2 separate regions of the Homo sapiens genome follow, and region 1 is linked to region 2. Evidence: promoter capture Hi-C in 16 types of primary human blood cells and fetal thymus (Javierre and others, 2016). All regions are on one chromosome and are shown on one strand. Each heading gives the region's core, a stretch centred on a gene start or on the middle of the fragment in contact. The rest is flanking DNA. Distances are from core to core; before and after follow the strand shown.

Region 1 (3,339 bases), core at 677-3,176, 34 kb after region 2:
CTACTCAGGAGGCTGGGTGGAAGAATCCCTTGACCCCAGGAGGCAGAGGTTGCAGTAAGCTGAGATCGAGCCATTTTCTTTTTTTTTTTTTAAGAGATGGGGGTCTCACTGTGTCGGTCAGGCTGGTCTTGAACTCCTGGGCTCAACTGATCCTTTGGCTACAGCCTCCCAAAGTGCGGGATAACAGGCATAAGCCACTGAATGTTCTTATTTTTATTATCATCTGTCCCCCCAACCCCCACTAGAATGTAAGATACAGGAGGGGTTTGTTTCAGTGCCTTGCCACATTCTCAGGGCCTGGAATTGTGCCTGCAACCAAACAGGTGCTCAAGTATTTGTTGAATGAATAAATGATTTATCAGTCAGTCTCTTAGGAGTTTAGTTAGCAGGACTTGGTTGGCAAGAATCAGAGAAGTCGGGAGCCAGCCAAGAGGGGGAGGCGGAACTGCCCTGCACAGGTACTTCCCGGAGCCCCAGCTGCCTGCTCTCTTTTTAGCAGCCACACCAACAATGTATCCGTTTTTAAAGCAAATGAGGAAATAATGGTTCAACCTGGGCCTCATTCAAGTGAGAATGGCGTCATCATTACCCTGTACCTGCCCTTTAGCAAAATAGAGGGGGAAGGCCCTGCTCTGTAACCTGATGGCCTAGCAACAAGGGGCAAGGGTTAGTTGGGACAATATAGGGAGGTGACTGTCCATCCTCACCTTAATGGACATGAGGGGAGGGGAGGGAAGGATGGGGCAAGAAAGTGCAGGCAGAAAGATGGAGCAGGCAAAGATGAGGAAGCAGGCCAGGCTAGGGGCTGTCAGGGACCTTCCCCAGCGTCCCCTCCTCCCTGGTCCTGTACCCAGCTGGGTCCCAGACACTCTCCACTCCCCACCTGCCTCTATAAGGAAGGCAGCCTCGTGTATGTCAGGCCCCTGGGGGAGCCTTAACTTCACCATCCTCTCACGGCCCTCCTCCTGGTCAGAGAATCCCAACCTCCCAGGCCCCACCAGAATTCCCCAGCCCTCCACGGGGCCTCGCCCACCGGGCAGAGCTGTGAGGGTCTCAGGGGGGGCTTCTGCTCCCGATCAGGGACCTGGGGCAGAGTGATGAGGATGCACCTGCCCAGGGAATCTTCCCTCCAAACAGCCCAGCCAAAGGCTGGAAGCTGAGCAACTTCCCTGCCTGTGTGCCCCGGAGGTCCCCACACTGGCCTGCTTGGCCTGCCCATCTCCATCACTCCTAGGGCCCTGCAGGGTGAAGAGAGTGTTCCAGAACTGTCCAGCCATCCTCCAGCACACACCTCCCCACTAGTAACTCCCTTCCCAGCCGAGGCGCCCTCCACCATGGGGGTTCTGACACCAGGGTCCCAGCTGGGGGACTTCTCCCTGCAGCAGGCTATGCCACTTACCTTCCTCCCGTGCCTTGGAGAAGCTGCTGGCAGCTGTAAGAGAGGTAAGGGCGATAAGGAGAGGGCCTGGTGTGGAGGGGAGACCAGAGACAGCCTCGAGACCCACCTGCTGAAGCCAGGAGGGAGGAGCAGGCTGATTCTTGGTAGTGAGGCCCCAGGACTCAGCTGGCACCATCACTCACAAAAGCTCTTTTGCGCCCCTCCCCCCACAACATCGCCTCTCATCCGCCCATTTCGCAGATGGGTAAGTAGTGAGCCCAGAATGGTGCAGAAATCCCTGGACCACATATACAGCAAGTTTAGGGGCTGGTCCGAGACTCAAGCCCAGATCTTTCCCTCTCTGTCCATGTTTCCAGAGGTGCCCTTCCTTCAGGCCTCATCTCTCCTGTGCTCCCAGTACCCCCACCTGAGCCCAAGACCTCAAGGCCCCAGCAGCAGCCCCACCATCACGTCCCTGGTGGACTCACCCAGCACGGCCAAGCAGAACAGCCCAGGGAGCCCCATGCCTCGGTGGGTGTAGGGCCTCTGCTCGGGCAGTGAGAACCTCCTAGTTCCTGGCCTCCCCCACCCTGAGGCCCCTGGGATGCTCCCTGGGTGGGTGCCTGCAGTGGGGAGATAACCTGGAGGCCGCAGCACCCCAGGGCCTCAGCTACCAGGGCGGGGCCCAGAGAGCCCCGGCAGGCCCGGTACAGCAAACTCCCCCTCAATCCCCAGAGAAGTGGAAGGAGTTTGGACCTTGAAGCCAGACCAGGGCTTAGACTCAGCAGTCACCTCTGAGCCGCAGGATCCCGGGCTCACGTGGTGGGCAGAAGGTGTCCATGCTCCGCGGGGCACAGTGGCTCACACCTGTAATCCCAGCACTTTGGGAGGCCTGGATGGGCGGATCACCTGAGGTCAGGAGTTCGAGACCAGCCTGGCCAACATGGCGAAACTCCATCTCTACTAAAAATCAGCCGGGCGTGGTGGCGTGCGCCTGTAATCCCAGCTACTCGGGAGACTGAGGCAGGAGAATTGCTTGAACCCAGGAGGCGGAGGTTGCAGTGAGCCAAGATCACGCTACTGCACTCCAGCCTGGGCAACAGAGTGAGATTCCATCTCAAAAAAAAAAAAAAAAAAAAAGATGTCCACGCTGTAACTTCTGGAGCCCGTGAGCACCATGCTACGCGGCAAGGGGAATGAAGGCTGTGAGTCTTCTCATTTTGAGAGGAGGAGCCCGTCCTACATGACCCAGGTGACCCTCATGTAATCACTGGGGCCTTTCCAAGCAGCTGGGGACCTGCTGGGCTGAGAAAAGGCAGCCCCACCCATGATGGTTCACAGCCGGGAGGCCAAGGCTGCACCCAGCCCCAGAATGAAACCCCAGACCGACGAGGCCCCTGGTCCTGGAGTGTGATGGGTCCTGGAGTCCTGGGTCCCGGAGCGTGGTGTGCCCAAGCACCGCCCTTCAGAAGTCCCTCAGGCCCCACTGAGGGTGGTGGGAGGTCACATGGATGGTCATTCCCCAGGGAACTGGCCCCAGTGCTGGCCTTGGCCAGCAGCAGACCCAGCTGCATCGCAGGCAGTGTGTGTGCAGAGTTCAGCCACAGAGCCTCCTGCACATGCAGGGAGGGTGGGGGTGAGCAGGGCCTCCCAGAGCCCCGAGGCCAGGGCTGGGGCCAGGCATTCCCCGGAACACAGAGAGATGTAAGGGCGCAAGGGATTGAGGCTGGGGCCCTGCCAGCTCCGCTGTGGGCCACTGCACCCGGCTTTGTGCCCAAGCTCAGCCTGGGGCTGCTGGACCAGCCTGTCACTTTCTGGCCCGGCTCAGTTTCCCACACTTTGTGTGGGGAATGCCTTTTCTGGCTGCCTCCTTCAGGAATATGTCCCCTGCCACCAGGTGACCATTGCCTCCTGTGGGAGCTGCTGCCACCTGTGGCTCCTGACCGGTCAATCACACTCTC
Region 2 (3,451 bases), core at 784-3,283:
AAGATGCAGTGACTCACACCTGTAATCTCAGCCTGTGGGAGGCCAAGGTGGACAGATCACTTGAGCCCAGGAGTTGGAGACTCACCTGGGCAACATAGTAAAACCCCATCTCTACCAAAAAAAAAAAGAAATTAGCCAGTCATAGCAGCGCACACCTGTGGTCCCTGCTACTCAGGAGGCTGAGGCAGAAGGATGGAGCCTGGGAGGTCGAGGCTGCAGTGAGTGGTGATAGCACCACTGCACTCCAGCCCGGGCGACAAGGCCAGACCCTGTCTCAAAAAAAAAAGGGGGAGGTGGGGAGTAATGTTTGGTTTGCCTCATGGTTCCTTTTGCTTGTTTCTTATACGTTTATTTTCTTGTTGTTGAAGTACCTTTTTTAGTAGTTTTTGCAGCCAGGAGGTATAGATGGGAAGCTGCCAGTCTTTGTATGGAAATCTTTCTTTTGTCATCTAGTTTAAGCTGGGCAGCAAGAGGTAGGTTGATCTTGTGTGGGTTTGGGTTTTTTTTTTTTTTTTGAGACGGAGTCTTACTCTGTCGCCCAGGCTGGAGTGCAATGGCGTGATCTCGGCTCACTGCAACCTCTGCCACCCGGATTCAAGCGATTTTCCCACCTCGCCTCCCAAGTAGGTGGGATTACAGGCACCCACCATCATGCCTGGCTAATTTTTGTAGAGACAAGGGTTCACCATGTTGGCTAGGCTGGTCTTGAACTCCTGACCTCAGGTGATCCACCCGCCTTGGCTTCCCAAAGTGTTGGAATTACAGGCATGAGCCGCCGTGCCCGGCCTTTTTAATTTTTATTTTTTTTGAGATGGAGTCTTGCTCTGTTGCCCTGGCTGGAGTGGAGTGACGTGATCTTAGCTCACAGCAACCTCCGCCTTTTGGGTTCAAGCAGTTCTGCCTCATCCTTCCGGGTAGCTGGGATCACAGGTGCGTGCCACCATGCGTAGCTCATTTATGTATTTTTAATAGAGATGGGGTTTCACCATGTTGGCCAGCTGGTCTGGAACTCCTGACCTCAGGTGATCCGCATGCCTCAGCTCCCAAAGTGCTGGGATTACAGGCGTGAGCCACCACGCCTGGTCTTGATCTTGTTGCTTTGAAAAGTAGCAGCGCTGGTCATTGTGTTTTTGCTCAGAGGAAGGCCGCCATCTCTCTAATGTTACCTCTGGTCAGGTATTCTATCTGTTCTCTCTCAGCACAATGTGTGTAGGGGAAGCTTTGTTTCATTTATCCTGCTTTATAGCTGGTGTGCCTTTTCATTTCTGGGGAAGGAATGAAGCCATTATCACTTCAGGTATTTCTCTCCTCATCCATCTCTGAGGTGTTCTGGGTTCCATCTTCCAGAGTGTGTTTTGTTTCAGTGACTATTTTTACATCTGCTGCTCTAATTCATCATGCTCCGTTTTGTTTGACAAGTTACTGTTGGGTTATTTTTAAATTTATGCTGTTCCTTCCATTATGTTCCTGAAAATCTTTTCTTAGACTTTTCCAGATTTTTCTATTTCCTCAGGAACATATTCTGTGGTTGAGTTTCTGGGTTATTTTCTGTTATCTTAGTTTTCTTTCCTCTGCTTTGGAGATTTTATTTTTGTTAGTTTATCACAAAGAATGAAACTGAAACTCTCTCCAAGGGGTTTAGCAGACTTGACCTCTTAGGTACTTTTAGGGTTGCCTCGAAGTACACAATGTGGTGGTTTGATATAAACATAACAGGAATTTATTTCTCGCTCACAGACCCCCTACGTGGTTCCAGGCCGGTTGATGGGGAGGCCGCCCACGAGGCGGCTTAGGTCGCCCTGGCTGGCTGTATACAGACACGGAGGGGAAGAGACGTGGCGGAGCCCCTGGGTGTGAGGTTTTCATGGGCCTGACCAGAAGCTGCAAACGTCACTTCTGCTGATCTTTCAAAGACTAGAACCTGGGCACAGGGCCACCTATACGTTTAGTATACTTAGTCCAGTTCGTTTTTTGTTTGTTTTTAAAAACAGTCTTGCTCTGTGGCCCAGGCTGGAGTGCAGTGGCGCAGTCTCGGCTCACTATAACCTCCATCTCCCAGGTTCAAGTGATTCTCCCGCCTCAGCCTCCTGAGTAGCTGGGATTACAGGCTTCTGCCACCATGCCCAGCTAACCTTTTGTATTTTTAGTAGAGACGGGGTTTCATCATGTTGACCGGGCTGGTCTGGAACTCCTAACCTCAGGTGATCTGCCTGCCTCAGCCTCCCAAAGTGCTGGGATTACAGGCGTGAGCCACCACGCCTGGCCACACTTAGTCTAGTTCTATACCCTGGAGGAAGAATAAATGAGTTGGTTTGGTGAGTGCTTCGAGGTCTCTACCCGCCCTGCCTCCCAGCACAGAGCCAGGCCGCTCTGGCCTGAATACCCTGCCCGGACGTCACAGGGCCTGTCCCCTCAAAAGGCCAGTCCTGCCTTCCTGGTTCTGTTCTTGCCCAACATTCTGTATGAGTCACAGCTGCAAATTCCATTCCCGTGGGGAGGCTGACGGGTCCCTTCCCCTGTGCGGGGCATCTGCCCTGTGGAGTTGAGGCTGCCAGTGTCCGCTCTGGGTTCCCGACCACCCGGCAGCTGGCATCTCCTCCCCGCTTGGGTATGGCCATTCCGTTTCTGACCTTCAGAGGTGCGCCCCTGAGCACCCCCATGCCTCTGCGTACGTGGAGACGTCGTTGTTGCTGCCCCGTGCTTGAGGGACTCCTGGCGAGAAAGTGAGCCCAGGCTGGGAATAGGGCTGCAGCTGTTCTCTTTTGCTCCCAAACTGTGGCCTCAGAATGCATCCAGGGATTTTGCATCAGCTTTGGGGACATGGCCCTCTCAGAACAAGGAAGCTTCAGCTTTGGCAAGGCTCTCCCTCCTTCAGACCTGCCGCTGTGAGTTGTTCAATAGCTCTGTTCTCCTGGCTCTGCGTAAACCTTGTTGACAGAGGCTGACCCAGACCCCCGAGGCAGAAACCTTTCCCTTCTCCTTCCTCGACATCCAAATGCCCTGAGTCAGGAGCCAGCGTATGAAGTCCTGTCCCCTGTTCAGCCTATAGGAGGGATTTCTCGGTCTACTTCCTCCCTGGCCAGCAAGTAAAACTTGAGTTCATTCAGTGAGTATTTATTACACCCTACCCAGACATCAGCATTCTGCCCTGGCCTCTGTGTGCCCTTGTTCTCTTCAAGAAGTTCCGGGTCACCAGCCTGACCAACATGGAGAAACTCCGTCTCTACTAAAAATACAAAAATTAGCCAGGCGTGGTGGCGCATGCCTGTAATCCCAGCTACTTGGGAGGCTGAGGCAGGAGAATCGCTTGAACCCGGTAGGCGAAGGTTGCAGTGAGCCAAGATCGCCCCATTGCACTCCAAGCCTGGGCAACAACAAGAGCAAAACTCAGTCTCAAAACAAAACAAAACAAAAGAAGTTCAGGGTCTTCCCATTGCAAGCAGTTCTAGAT

The links. Contacts are between HindIII fragments. The CHiCAGO score rates a contact against its expected background, and 5 or more counts as called.
Region 1: the fragment with the promoter of C17orf99 here is called in contact with a fragment that was not itself captured in region 2 in 1 of 17 cell types (total B cells); the score reaches 5.8 in total B cells.

What each region holds. Positions count from the first base shown.
Region 1 is chr17:78,144,972-78,148,310 of GRCh38, reverse strand. It overlaps C17orf99 (chromosome 17 open reading frame 99), which reads right to left and starts at 1,926. Exons shown (of 5, transcript NM_001163075.2): 1 at 1,867-1,926; 2 at 1,400-1,432. The coding sequence starts at 1,903. RefSeq lists an enhancer at 684-903. The HindIII fragment of the contact is 9,063 bases long and covers 1-3,339 here.
Region 2 is chr17:78,178,602-78,182,052 of GRCh38, reverse strand. All of the region lies in intron 4 of TK1 (thymidine kinase 1), which reads left to right. Among named protein-coding and RNA genes, the nearest start is that of TK1, 6.7 kb to the left of the region's middle. The HindIII fragment of the contact is 1,624 bases long and covers 1,222-2,845 here.